2 separate regions of the Homo sapiens genome follow, and region 2 is linked to region 1. The links are contacts of gene promoters, found by promoter capture Hi-C in blood cells and fetal thymus (Javierre and others, 2016). All regions are on one chromosome and are shown on one strand. Each heading gives the region's core, a stretch centred on a gene start or on the middle of the fragment in contact. The rest is flanking DNA. Distances are from core to core; before and after follow the strand shown. Region 1 holds the start of ASH2L (ASH2 like, histone lysine methyltransferase complex subunit). Region 2 has its middle 12 kb from the start of TACC1.

Region 1 (7,512 bases), core at 1,633-4,132:
TCTTCCTTGAATTCCTCCCAGTTATCTCTCTAGTAAACTTCCTTTCCTAAACTGTCTATCCAAACAAATTTTTCTGGCAAAAGTGGCCCTATCTTAGGCCTCTCTAAGAGACCAGGCTTGCTTAGCTAGTGTGTTTTCCCAGCAGATGTTGCTACCAAGATCAATTATTTCTTCCTGATCCTTCAGTATTTTTCTTTCTTTTTAAAAACACTCTTTCCTAAATCACAAGTCACATGTTAATTAAGACATCAGCATTTCTAAAACCCACTTTAACCTTTTAACTAGAAAGTATACAACAGATTATAAAGGAAAGCTGGGTGTGGTGGCTCATGCCAGTAATCCCAACACTTTGGAAGGGTGAGGCAGGAGGATCCCTTGAGCTCAGAAGTTCGAGGCTGCAGAAAGCTGTGATCCTGCCATTGCACTCCAGCCTGGGCAGCAGAGCGAGACCCAGTCGCAAGAAAAAAACAAGAAAACATATATATATGTATATATATATACATATACACACACACACACACACACACACACACACACACACATATATGTATTTCTTCACAATCTCACCCAAGGTGGATTAATTTCACGATAATGCAGCCTTATGTTTAGATAGTCTTTTATAAATGTATTAGCATAATACAAACCATAAAGAACATTACAGAGAGCGAGCAGTACAATTATTCCAACAGACAGTCAGTATAAGGAAAAAAGTCTTTCATTCTCAATCACAATATGATTTTAATTCACTAGAAGAGGTACATGATTGGAAATAGGTTTGCTGAGGAGAGTAGACAATATACCTAAAGGAGTGAGTCAGCAGCAATGAGAAAGGAAAAAAAGGATGGTTCAGGCATAAAGAGCATGGGTCATCTCAAATTTTGGACAACAGGCTTTATCCACATATATCCTTTCTGAAAAATCCAAAACACCAACACAAGGTTTATATTGTTCTAAATTTGTTTATATAACACTTTGTAATTGCATTTTTTTTTGTCTCCAAACCAGGTTGTCAACTCAAAAGGAGGGGCAATACCCACCATTGTATCTACCAGAGCTGTGCCCTCAGTAAGCAGATAACATGCTAAGGGAATTAAAACAACTCCTGATTCAACATCCTACTTGCTGAATAGGGGTTAGGAGACATAGGAAATACTTTGCATTTATTTTGCCCACAAAGTAACTGTTGAGCATGTTCAGATTTATTTTACCGAGCAATTCTCACAAAAACTATGAAAAGTACTCACGAGGTATCTATGCCAAATGTGTCAGCCGTGAACCATTTTGTACAAATCCCACATTGCAGCTCTACCTCACCCAACTGTCGGCCATTCTCTTCATCCACGGAGCCCGCCTGAGTATCCATCACCTCTGATGTATCCCCAGCACCTTCCTGTGTCAGAGCAGTTCGAGACTCAAATCAGTTGACTTGAATGTATTTTACTTTATTTTATTTTTTTAAGAGACGGGGGTCTCCCTATGTTGCCCAGGCTGGTCTCAAGTGATCCTGAGGTCTCAGCCTCCCAAAGTGCTGGGATTACAGGCATGAGCCACCGTGCCTGGCCTGAATGTATTTTTGATTCGCTTAAAAATGTAAAAACAAGGCCGGGCGCGGTGGCTCACGCCTGTAATCCCAACACTCTGGGAGGCTGAGGCGGGAGAATCAACTGAGGTTAGGAGTTCGAGACCAGCCTGGCCAACATGGTGAAACCCCGTCTCTACTAAAAAGACAAAAAAAAGAAGCCAGGTGTGTTGGCAGATGCCTGTAATCCCAGATACTCGGGAGGCTGAGGCAGGAGAATCGCTGGAACCCGGGGGGAGGAGGTTGCAGTGAGCCGAGATCGCGCCACTGCATTCCAGCCTGGGCGACAGAGCAAGGCTCCGTCGCAACAAAAAAAAAAAAAAAAGAAGAAGAAGAAATAACTAAAACAAACCCTATTTTGTCTTGCAAACAACTAAAAATACTTACTAGTGTATCTTTTCCATTAGATGATTCTGTCTCCAAGCCACCGCTTACATCGACCAAGTTTGCCTCCCTATAAGATAATGAAAGCGCTCAAGTAAGAATTCTCAAGACAAACCTCAAAATGCCTATTCCCAAAAATGATGATCAAATTACAGCCGAACTTCATACTCCTGCAGCTTTTTCAGCTAAGCCTGATCTCAGACTGGATGCCCAAGGTACTGTCAGGATACTGAGAAGGTGGACATGTCAGACAGTCGCGGACCCACGGAGCACAGGGAAGCCTAACCGGCCTTTACAGTCAAATCTACCTGGGTTAGAGTTGGTCCTGGGAGAGGTTCAAAGAGAGGCAGCTCTCCCACCCTGTTTTCAGAGTGACCGTTACTTCTTCCAGTCTGGCACTGCAAAGTGGTTTCTTTTCTGGAATATGTGAAGGCCTCCCGTTAAAGTGTGAGCTACCAGCTTCCTGCCAGGGTGCAAGGATCAGAGATAACGACAGGAGCCTCAGCTCCCACCGCCCGTGAAAGGTGCGGAAGGGGCGTTATCCGAGATATGCTTGAGAGGGGACGGGCCAAGCGGCGCAGAGGCAGGGCGAGCCATTGGCGGCGGGGCCTGGGTTCGCAGGGGGCGGGCGGCAGGGCTCCAGGAGCCGCGGGATTCGCGAGGGGCGGGCCTCCCTCCCGCGTCTTCCTCGGGCGGCAGGACCTCTTACCCGCCTTCAGCCTCCCCGGAACTGGGCTCAACTGTCGGAGCAGCAGAGATCCCCTCTCCAGGAGGAGCGGCTGCTCCCGCTGCCACCGGCTTCATCTCCCCCTCTTCTGCCCCTGTTGCATTTGCGACCGCTCCTGGGCCAGGCCCGGCACCCGCTTCCTGGCCAGGTCCTGCTCCTGCCGCCGCCATCACGGCCACCCCTGGACTTCTCGCGAGAATACTCTCTTCTCTCGCGCGCGTTGCTGTGTGACGCTGTAGTCTTCAAACAGAAAAAGCCCGCGGTGCGTCCACCGCCTGCCTGAGGAAGCATAATTCCACGACCGCTTTAAGGCCAGGCGCGCGGGCAGAGGTGGGCCGGCCTCCCGCGCCGGCGGTGGCCGCGGGCCTGGCAGGCTGAAGGTGGAGGAAGCTAGATGGTTAGTGCGGCTCTCTGGAGGACTTCCTTTCGAGTCAGGGACTGACGCGGCGTATTTTCGTGGCTACGACTGGATATTCTGCGCAGAAGAGGGTCCTTGAGAGCGCTGGCCGTGCCGTGCCGCCAAACACTCCTCACCACCGAATGTGGGAAACGTCTTCCTTGGAGTCTAGCACTCCCTGCCCGCCCCGGATGGAATTTGGTTTTCTGCGCAGGGTCGCCCCTTGGAGCCCGTTTCCAAATGATTTTAAGAGGGAAGGGAATCTAGGGAGGCCGATTCCAGGGGCGAGGGTGGAAAACCCAGGCCGGGCAGCCGAGGAGCGGCGTGGGCACTAGAAGCGGCTCGCCGCTTCCTACTGTGAGAGGCGGAAAGCGAAGCCCCGGGGTGTGCCGGGGCACTCGGAATGTAGACAAGTTTGGTGCCCAGCGAAAGGAAGAGGTGTGGACTGAAAGTACGAACTTGGGAAGTCATCAACAGTAGCTGGTGGCTGGCATCAGTGGAGTGAGTTGAGTCTTTCAGAGCCATGGTCTCCAAACTCGAGAATGCAAACCTCTGAGAGTGTTGCGGCCAGGAACGTTTTCAGGACACCAGTGTTTATCCTATATCCTAAAATGTTGCCTAACGATAATACACTCTTCTCCCGCTTTACACAAGAACGGCGCACCCCTCGCCAATCCTCAGTCTAATCTTACTGTGATGTGTCCACCGATAGTGTAGGAATCTCTGGGCCACTGGACGCCATGGGAAATACGTAGATATTGATTTCCCAATTGGTTCTCAATTATTGGTTTTCAACAAAATTGAAGAAAGACCTAACTGAGTTGCCAGGTTACATTTTTAAAATTGATGATAAATACTTAAATCAGGGGTTGGTACTCCAAAGAGAAGCAGGATGCTTGATCTAAGTATCTCCTCCCAAATACGTAGTATTGTAGCAGTTTTAACATATGGTCGCAGAATTTTGTGTTTTCTTGTTGTTGTTTGTTTGAGACAGAGTCTCGCTCTGTCGCCCAGGCTGGAGCGCAGTGGCCCGATCACGGCTCACTGCAACCTCCACCCCAGGTTCAAGCGATTCTCCTACCTCAGCCTCCCGAGTAGCTGAGATTACAGGTATCTGTCACCACGCCCGGCTAATTTTTGTTAGTAGAGGCGGGGTTTCACCATGTTGGCCAGGCTGGTGTCGATCTCCTGACCTCAAGTGATCCACCCACCTGGGCCTCCCAAAGTGCTGGGATTACAGGTGTGAGCCACCGCGCACGGCTTTTTTTTTTTTTTTTTGAAACGGAGTCTCGGTTTGTCGCCCAGGCTGAGTGCAGTAGCGCGATCTCAGCTCACTGCAACCTCCACCTCGCGGTTTCGGGTTCAAGCGATTCTCTTGCCTCAGCCTCCCGAGTTGCTGGGATTACAGGCACGCGCCATGACGCCTGGCTAATTTTTGTATCTTTAGTAGAGACGGGGTTTCACCTGTGTGTTTTTTTTTTTTTTTTCTGAGACAGAGTCTCGCACTGTCGCTCAGGCTGGAGTGCAGCAGTGGCGGCATCATACCTCACTGCCGCCTCAAGTTCCCCGGGTAAAGCAATCCTCCTGCCTTAGCCTCCTGAGTAGCAGGGACTATAGGCACGAGCCACCACGCCCAGCTAATATTCTTTTTTTTTTTTTTCTTTTTGAGACGGAGTGTTGCTCTGTCGCCCAGGCTGGAGTGCAGTGGTGCAATCTCCGCTCACTGCAAGCTCCACCTCCCGGGTTCACACCATTCTCCTGCCTCAGCCTCCCGAGTAGCTGGGACTACAGGCGCCCGCCACCGCGCCCAGCTAATTTTTTGTATTTTTAATAGAGACAGGGTTTTTGCCGTTTTTTAGCCAGGATGGTCTCAATCTCCTGACCTTGTGATCCGCTGCCTCGGCCTCCCAAAGTGCTGGGATTACAGGCGTGAGCCACTGCTCCCGGCACGCCCAGCTAATTTTCTTAATTTTTAGTAGAGACAGGGTCTCATCATGTTGCTCAGACTAGTCTCCAACTCCCGAGCTCAAGCGATCCTCTTGCCTGGGCTTTCCAGCGTGCTGGGATTACAGGAGTGAGCCATCATGCCTCCACACAAATTCTTTAATACCCCCCTCCCCTTGATTGTGTGGGCTGGACTCAGTGACTTGCTTCTAACTAATAGAATGTAGAAAAAGAAAATAACATGGCCAGACGCGGTGGCTCATGCCTGTAATCCCAGCACTTTGGGAGGCCGAGGCGGGCGGATCACCTGAGGTCAGGAGTTCGAGACCAGCCTGACCAACATGGAGAAACCCCGTGTCTACTAAAACTACAAAATTAGCCAGGCGTGGTGGCGCATGCCTGTAATCCCAGCTACTCAGGAGGCTGGGGCAGGAGAATCACTTGAACCCGGGAGGCGAGGTTACAGTGAGCCGAGATCGCGCCATTACACTCCAGCCTGGGCAACAAGAGTGAAACTACGTCTCAAAAAAAAAAAAAAAAAGAAAAAAATAGTAATTTTTATTTTTTATTTATTTTCTTTTTCCTCTTGGTAGAAAATAGTAGTTTTTACGGTGCAGAAATGGGCGAACACACCACCTTACCCAAGTGGTCAGGTTAATATAACCAGTTAAAAATTATAGGCCGGGCGCAGTGGCCTACGCCTGTAATCCCCGCACTTTGGGAGGCCGAGGCAGGTGGATCACGAGGTCAGGAGATCGAGACCATCCTGGCTAACAAGGCAAAACCCCGTCTCTACTAAAAATACAAAAAATTAAGCGGGCGTGGTGGCGGGCGCCTGTAGTCCCAGCTACTTGGGAGGCTGAGGCAGGAGAATGGCGTGAACCCAGGAGGTGGAGCTTGCAGTGAGCTGAGATCGCACCACTGCACTCCACCCTGGGGGACAGAGCGAGACTCCGTCTCAAAAAAAAAAAAATTATAAATATACCCCCCGATATACAATGAGATGGCAACTTCATCTCTTTGGTATTCCCCAAAATCCATAATCCAAGTCTAATCAAGAGAAAGCATCAGATGAATCCAAGTTGAAAGACATTCTAGAAAATATGTTGGCTGGGTGCAGTGGCTCATGCCTGTAATCCCAGCACTTTGGGAGGCCAAGGCAGGAGGCAGGAAGATTGCTTGAAGCTAGGAGTTCAAGACCAGCCTAGGCAGCAAAGCAAGACCCTGTCTCTATAAATTTTTTTTTTTTTTTGAGACAGAGTTTTGCTCTTGTTGCCCAGGGTGGAGTGCAATGGCGTGATCTTGGCTGACTGCAACCTCCGCCTCCTGGGTTCAAGCGATTCTCCTGCCTCAGCCTCCTGAGTAGCTGGGATTACAGGCATGCACCACCATGCCCAGCTAATTTTGTGTTTTTAGTAGAGATGGGGTTTTTCCATGTTGGTCAGGGCTGGCCTGGAACTCCCGACCTCAGGTGATCCACCTGCCTCGGCCTCCCAAAGTACTGAGATAACAGGTACCCACCACCACACCAGGCTAATTTTTTATTTTAGTAGAGACGGGGTTTACCGTGTTGGCCAGGCTGGTCTCATACTCCTGACCCCCATGTGATCCACCCACCTCAGCCCCCCAAAGTGCTGGGATTACAGGCGTGAGCCACCATACCTGGCCAGAAAATTAAAACTTGAAAAAAAAAAAGGTGTTAGTGGTAGATCACCATAATCTGACATAGAACTTTTTTTTTTTTTTTTTTTTTGAGACTGAGTTTTGCTCTTGTTCCCCAGGCTAGAGTGCAATGTGACGGTCTCAGCTCACTGCAACCTCCACCTCCAGTGTTCAAGAGATTCTCCTGCCTCAGCCTCCTGAATAGCTGGGATTACAGGCATGTGGCACCACGCCCAGCTAATTTTTTGTATTTTAAGTGGAGATGGGGTTTCACCATGCTGTCCAGGCTGGTCTGGAACTCCTGACCTCAGGTGATCCACCCGCCTCGGCCTCCCAAAGTGTTGGGATTACAGGCATGAGCCATTGTGCCTGGCCCTGACATAGAACTTTGAAGGAGTTCAAAGAATTGAGTTCCATTGCTTCATAAATCCTGGGTGGGAAAATGCTAATTTATGTAAAGAAAAGTTGTCAGCTCTTTTATCTATAAAAATGAAAAATGCTGGGTGTGGTGATGCATGCCTGTCCCAGCTATTCGGGACAGGTGAAGTGAGAGGATCTTGAGTCCAAGAGTTGGAGGCAAGCCTGGGCAACATTAATGCAAGCAACATGGTGAGAACAAGTCTCTTAAAAAAAAATGAAAAATAGGCCAGGCATGGTGTCTCACTCCTGTAATCCCAGCACTTTCAGAGTCCGAGGTGGGTGGATCACGAGGTCAGGAGATAGAGACCATCTGGCTAACACGGTGAAACCCTGTCTCTACTAAAAATACAAAAAAAAAAAAAAAAAAAAAAAAGGTTAGCTGGGTGTGGTGGCACGCGC
Region 2 (7,512 bases), core at 2,571-5,070, 670 kb before region 1:
TGCTCACCACTCCAGGCAGGGTGTGCCCTTCCCCAAATGCCCAGTGGGAGCCCATGTTACTGGGCAGCCTGTGGGTTTCATCTAAGTGACTGTGTGGTGACCAAAGTGTGAAATGCTCATTTCAAGAAGGCATTTGCCAGTTGAGCCAAAGTACCATAAAAAAAGAGCATTTCAGCCAGGCATAGTGGCATCTTCCTATAATCCCAGCACTTTTGGAGGCTGAGGCAGGAGGATAACTTGAGCCCAGGACTTTGAGACCAGCCTGAGCAACATAGCAAAACCCCATCTCTATAAAAAAATTAAAAAGTAGCCAGGCGTGGTGGTGTTCGCCTGTAGTCCCAGCTAATCTTGAGCCCAGGAGGATCGCTTGAGCCCAGAAGGTCAAGGCTGAAGTAAGCCGTGATTGTGGCATTGCATTCCAGATTGGGTGACAGAGCGAGACCTTGTCTAAAAAGAAAAGAAAAAAAAAAAAAAAACCCAAGGACCCCTACTGATACAAATGAGAATCCTCAAAGGCACAAAAAATTGGGCCAGAGCATAAAAGGCATACTTTATGTGGGAGGTGCAAAAGGATTAATTTTAACATCTCTTTCTTTGGGATGCTCTTTCGCTATACTTCCTTTTAGGGTGGTTTCTTCCAAGAAACTATGTTGATGAGGGAAATGACACCCAGGAGCCTCTCCCCATCTGGGAAAAAGTAGCAAGGCTCAGCAAAGAAAGGAGGCATCAAACAGGTTGCCAAGGCCTGATTTTGTGAAGCAGGAAGCCTAAAAACTGGGGAAGCACTCTTTAAGAAAAATGCTAAAGGACCCCATGAACACAGTGCTAGGGCCACACTAGTATGAAGGGGCCCATGCAAGGGAGGGGACTGAAGCTTAGGCTTCCTCAGCTTCATAGTAAATTCAGCTCTGCCCAGAGAACAAAAGAGATTCCTGCCTGTGGCTCAGGAGTGGTTCAGCTGGCCTCAACTCAGTAAGTGAAATGTCCATTTATGGAGCGAGGGGGTCACACTGACCTCTGTCTTCTTAGAGGAAACAAAAATATTTAACTGTTGGAAACTGGATAAAACTGTCAAAAGATATCTCCTACACAGATTGTGAAACATAATTCATGGCTCTGTTCCTTCTGTACCCATTGTAAACACACACATACACACACACACACACACACACAATTTTAATTATTAAGATAAAAAAGCAAAAGGCCAGGTGTGGTGGCTCATGATTGTAATCCCAACACTTTGGGAGACGAAGGCAGGAGGATCGCTTGAGCCCAGGAGTTTGAGACCAGCCTGGACCACACAGTGAGAGCCCATCTCTACACACATGCACACACACAAAGATAAAAAAGAAAAACTATAATGCTTCTTTAACATTGTGTGTCTATGCACCTCTACTCTTTGAATTTCCACAAGATCACCATGGTAGAGCCTAATTCCCTCACCCCACATCCTGTATCCATCTGTATCCATCATTTCCTTATTTCTTCTAGCAAAAGAACCCTCTGAATTTTTGCTGAGCACATGGTCACACAGCAAGAGGCCACGTTTCCTTCTCTACAACTAGGTGTGGCCTGTGACTCAGTTCTCACCCATGGGATGTGAGCACAAGGGGTAAGTGCAAATTTGGGGCAGTGTCTTTTTTTTCTCTTTTAGAGACAGAGTTTTGCTCTATTGTCCAGGCTGAAATGCAGTAGTGTAATCATATCTCACTATAGCCTCGAGCTCCTGGGCTCTAGCAATCCTCCCACCTCAGCCTCTTGAGTAGCTGGAAATCCAGGTGCACACCACCATGTCCAGCTAATGTTTTTTGTTTTGTTTTGTTTTGTTTGTAGAAACAGGGTCTTGCTGTGTTGCCCAGGCTGGTCTCAAATTCCTGGACTCAAGCAATTCTCACCCCTTGGCCTACAGAAGCAGTGGGATTATAGACATGAGCTATTGTGCCTGGCCCCTGGGCCAATGTCTTTAAAAAGAAAACTGCATGTCCAGCCTCTCCCGGCCGAAAAGTTGTGAACTGCGTGTCACAACTTCTGCTGTGTGAGGACCACACTCTGGACAGGATAGAGCCACAGAACAGACAGAACCCGCACCAGGCTGACTGGGGAGCAGAGCAGCCTGCGGCCCTAGACTAATTGCTGCCTGAGGACTGTTCCATGAGAGAGAAAAGTCTATCTTCTCTTTTTTTTTTTTTTTTGAGATGGAGTCTCACTCTGTTGCCCAGGCTGAAGTGCAGTGGCGTGATCTCGGCTCACTGCAACCTCTGCCTCCCGGGTTCAAGCAATTCTCCTGTCTCAGCCTCCAGAGTGGCTGGGATTACAGGCTCGTGCCACCACACCCAGCTGATTTTTGTATTTTTAGTAGACATGGGGTTTCACCATGTTGGCCAGGCTGGTATCGAACTCCTGACCTCAGGTGGTCCGCCTGCCTCAGCCTCCCAAAGTGCTGGAATTACAGGCGTGAGCCACCGTGCCCAGCCTAAAAGTCTATCTTCTTTATCAGACTGTGTCACTGGGCCCCTTTGTAACAGCAGCCTCATCTCCACCCTCACATTACAACCTCCTCTGGGGGATTTCAGCATCTAAGCTTCCTTAGATGAAGGTATGGGAAGAACCTGCCTTAAATTTCGTTCTACATTCTTCTGAACAGGATTACATGAAAGTTCCTTCAAAGATGGAAGCATTTTTAAAAATGATAAATCTACACAGGTTGAGCATCCCTAATCCAACAATCTAAAATCCAAAACGTTTTGCTTGTCAACATGACACCACAGTGGAAAATTCCACACCTAATTTCATGTGGCCAGTCACAGTCAAAACACAGTCAAAACTTTGTTTCATGCACAAAATTATTACAACTGCTGTTTAAAATTACCTTCAGGCTATGTGTAGAAGGTGTATATGAAACATAATGAATCTCATGTTTAGACTTGGGTCCCATCCCCAAGCTATCTCATTATGTATATGCAAATATTCCAAAATCTAAAATCTGAAACACTTCTGGTCCTAAGCATTTTGGATAAGGAACACTCTACCTGTATCTCAATGATGTCTTTTCTCAGGGCAGAAAATTCCCGAACCAAAAGACTCAAGCCTGCCCCGTGGATGATGTCCTAATTATCCTAAAAACAGGACTGAGACTACCCTTCCTTCTGCCGTAATGACTTGAGCTGTGATACTGACTTTCTAGAAATTAGGCAGTTGCATTTTTAAAGATGACTGATGTGGACAAAAACGTTGAAGAAGGAGGGAGTCAATATTTAGATTTCACAAAGGCCAAGTAGAATGGATTTACATATTGATGAAGGTTATTATTTTCTTTGGGGAGATTTCCTTGAAATAATATGATTGTATAACTCCAATATTTGCCCAATTCTAAGGATAAATAATAACAATAATAAATAATAACTGACCCAAATCCTATAAGTGAATTAATCATTGTTCTTTGGCTTCAACACTAACTGGTGCTAGTGACGATTTCTAGCACACACACAAAATATTTTTAGAAATTGTTTTCTTATGGGCTCAATTAGTCAAGTTATTTTGTTGTATTATTTTATAGAACTATGACAAGCAAGAGCGAGTTTATCCTTACCGGTCTTCCCTGTACCTCATCATGTATGATATAGGAATATCTTATGTGTTTTCTGTTTCCTTTGGCCAAGGCATAGACACTGAGCAGAATATATTTGTTTTACATTATTTTCTGAACAAATGATAAATCACTGCTACAGACTGACTGTTTATATCCCCCCAAAATTCATAGGTTAAAACCTAAACTCCAATGTGAGAATATTAAGAAGTGGGGCCTTTGGGAGGTGATTAGGTCATGAGGGTTCTTCCTGGGGTCAGCGCCCTTATAAAAGAGACCCCAGACAGCTCCCTCTCCCTTCTTCTGCCAAATGAGGACACAGGGAGAAGACATCCAGGAGGTCAGCCTTCACCAGATGTGGAATCTGCTGGTCCCTTAATCATGGGGACCTCCATCCTCCAGAACTTCCAGAAATAAATGACTGGTTTATAAACCACCCAGGCAATTATATCCTTATAGTAGCCTTAACAGACTAAGATAATCACTGACTCCTAACCTAAGCATCCATCTCAGATCTCATAGAACCACAGAAATTTTTAGCTGGAAAGGACCTTTGCCAAAGATCACTGGGTCGAATATCATTCTTTTTGGAAGAAGGTTTACTCAGGCACCAAAGTGCACAACTAGGATTCATAACCCTTGCAAGGAAGGTATGAAGGTATGAATTCTGGAGTTTCCCCCCAGCCCCAAAAGATATGCCCACTTGGTATGTATAATAGAGATATGACTTCTCCCCAAAATTCACCTCATTTTAAAAGGCACTGTAAATTGTTTTATAAAGCAAATACATACAAATAGTCTTGTACTTTGTTTTAAAAGTTTTTGGTTTTCATTTTTTTTTTTTTTTTTTTGAGACGGAGTCTCACCGTGTCACCCAGGCTGGAGTGCAGTGGTGCGATCTTCGCTCACTGCAACCTCTGCCTCTGGGGTTCAAGCGATTCTCCTGCTTCAGCCTCCCGAGTAGCTGGGATTACATGCATGTGCCACCATGCCCAGCTAATTTTTGTATTTTTAGTAGAGAGGGGGTTTCACCATGTTGGACAGGCTGGTCTCGAACTCCTGACCTCGTGATCCGCCCGCCTCGGCCTCCCAAAGTGCTGGGATTACAGGCGTGAGCCACCGTGGCTGGCCTTTAAAAATATTTTTATAGCCTAGGCAACATAGTGAGACCCCATCCCTTCAAAAACAAAAACAAAAAAAAATTAGCCTGGTGTGGCAATGCACACCTGTAGTCCTAGCTACTTGGGAGGCCAAGATGGGAGGATCATTTGAGCCCAGGAATTCAAGGTTGCAGTGAGCTGTGATGCTACCACTGCACTTCAGCCTGGGCTATAGAGTGAGACTCTGTCTCAAAACAATAATAAAAAATGTATTTTTAAATACCTTTAGTGTTTAAGGCAAAATAATACATATGTTCATTCATTCATTCATTCATTCATTCATTCCACAAATTTGACAAATGACCAAGCTTTGCCAGCCTCTGCTGAACACTGTGTTGAACAAAAGAGACCCAGTTCCTGCCCTCATAGAACTTGCATATTAGTGAGCTTAGTAAGCCAACAAATAAATATGTAATATATAAATTGTCATGTATGAAATATAAGAACTGCAGGGGGCTCTGAGAATGGCTGGTGGACGGCATCGGTGGAGATGTCAAGGGAGGTTGCTCTGAAGGAGTGACAGACTGAAGCCTCAGGGATAGGCAGAAGCTGCCTGGGTGAAGTGTAGGGTAACAGCGTTCCTTCATCAAGACACTAAGGACAGAAGCAGCCTCCAGTTTTGAGTAAGCGTGGTTGAAGAGCAGCTGCTGGAGGGAGGAGAGGGGCTTAGGCTGGTGAAGTGGGAGAGGCACAAGGCATGACAGCCTAGAAGACCATGTTAAGCATCCTTGTCTCTGAAAAAGTGAATTTTTGACTACATAGGCAGTTCAAAGAAGAAAGAAAAACCTGCCCATAGTATTGTCTTTCATAAATAGCCACTGTTAAAATGTTGGTGAGCTAGATATACCCTTTTTTCCCTCTTTTTCAAAGTACTTTTTACATCTGGAATTGAAATATTTATGTTTTTCTATTAATATTTATAATCTGTCTTTCCCTACTAGACATAAGCTCCATGAACACAGAGTACCTTACCTATCTTGTTTCTTCTGCTCAATATTTGATGACTGAATAAAGATTGCAAATCTCTCTCTTACATATACACAAGCATGTACTTATTTGGACAAATGGAACAACAGATAGATAGCTAGATAGATAGCTAGATAGATAGATAGCTAGATAGATAGCTAGCTAGATAGATAGATACTTTTACACAAATAGTGAATAAGTACTTTTGGCAAAAGACAATATGTATGTTTAAATATTTATTGATTTTATTAATATTTACCAGTGTAAATATTAATGTTTATATTATATTAGTATTTATTTAATATAAATATTAATATTTAAATATAAAAATTTATATTATATTAATATTTTAATTTATTTGATATGCATATTAATATTTATGTCAATATTTAAAATAATGAATTTTTTTTTGAGACGGAGTTTTACTCTTTCATTCAGGCTAGAGTGCAGTGGCATGATCTCGGCTCGCCACAACTCCACTTTCCAATTTCAAGCAATTCTCCTGCCTCAGCTTCCTGAGTAGCTAGAATTACGGGTGCCCGCCACCACGCCAGGCTAATTTTTGTATAATTAATAGAGATGGGGTTTCACCATGTTGGTCAGGCTGGTCTCAAACTCCTGACCTTGTGATCCACCTGCCTCGGCCTCCCAAAGTGCTAGGATTACAGGCGTGAGCCACCGCGCCGGGCCTAGTGTTTATTAAGTATACGTTTTGTCTTTTGCTAGAGGTGAGTACTTATTCAGGTTAAGTATTAATACAACAATAAACCTTAATTATTAAACCTTAATATTATAAACCTTAATACAAACCTTAATCAATAGAGGTGAGTACTTTATGCATGTTTAAATATTTGTTTTATTAGTGTTTATTTATATTAATACATAAAATTTATTGATATTTAATGTTAACAAGTATCAATTTATTGTTTATATTAATGAATAGTAATATTTAAATCAACACGTTAATATATATGAATATTTATTTACATTTATTAACATTTAACAAATTAATATTTATTGATTTAATTATACATATTATCTTTTGCTAGAGGTGAGTATTTATTCATTATGCCGCTTGTTTTCTTCATAAGGTGCTGCTCCCCATGGATGAAGAGGAAACCAGGATGTGCAGCCAAGACCCGTCCTGACCCCTCATTGGGATCTGCCTCTCTGCAGAACCCACATGTGCCTCCTTCTCTTCACTGCATAACATGCCTTTGTGTGTCTGTACAGAATTTGCCTGACTTGCTCCCCATGGAGGGATATTTAACGGGTTTGCTGTTCCTCATTATAAATGAAACCGTGATGAGCAATCCCATGCATATGCATCTTTTCACACACTTAAATTTCTTTTCACACACTTATCTTTTCTTAGAGTAAAATTCTAGAAGTGAGATTGTAGTGTCAAAACAAACACATTTTATATTTTGATACACATAGCCAAACTGCCCTCTGGAAAGGCTGTACTCATTCACATTTGTAAACACAGTATATGAGACAGCCTTTCCCCTAAACCTTAATCAATACTGAGTTCGGTCAATCTTTTAAAACTGTCAAATGGGTGAAATGATAAGCCACCACCAAGGACTGCTGGTCTTATTTGAACACGTTTATTTCTGAAGTTTGAATGTGTTTTAATGGATTTATTGAAGCATTGCCTGCTTGCCTGCCTTCCTTCCTTCCTCTCTCTCTCTCTCTCTCTCTCTCTCTTTTTCTTTCTTTCATATATGGAGTGTTTAAGTCTTTTGCCTTAACAGCAGTACTGAATGTGTGGTCCCTGGGCCAGCAACATCAGCATCA

The links. Contacts are between HindIII fragments. The CHiCAGO score rates a contact against its expected background, and 5 or more counts as called.
Region 2: a fragment that was not itself captured here is called in contact with the fragment with the promoter of ASH2L in region 1 in 1 of 17 cell types (fetal thymus); the score reaches 5.2 in fetal thymus.

What each region holds. Positions count from the first base shown.
Region 1 is chr8:38,100,899-38,108,410 of GRCh38, reverse strand. It overlaps ASH2L (ASH2 like, histone lysine methyltransferase complex subunit), which reads right to left and starts at 2,882. Exons shown (of 16, transcript NM_004674.5): 1 at 2,673-2,882; 2 at 1,967-2,033; 3 at 1,245-1,390. The coding sequence starts at 2,860. RefSeq lists silencers at 2,495-2,694, 3,025-3,114, 5,296-5,584 and an enhancer at 2,785-2,914. The HindIII fragment of the contact is 22,171 bases long and covers 1-7,512 here.
Region 2 is chr8:38,771,936-38,779,447 of GRCh38, reverse strand. It overlaps a transcript of TACC1 not described here. Among named protein-coding and RNA genes, the nearest start is that of TACC1, 12 kb to the left of the region's middle. The HindIII fragment of the contact is 2,473 bases long and covers 2,584-5,056 here.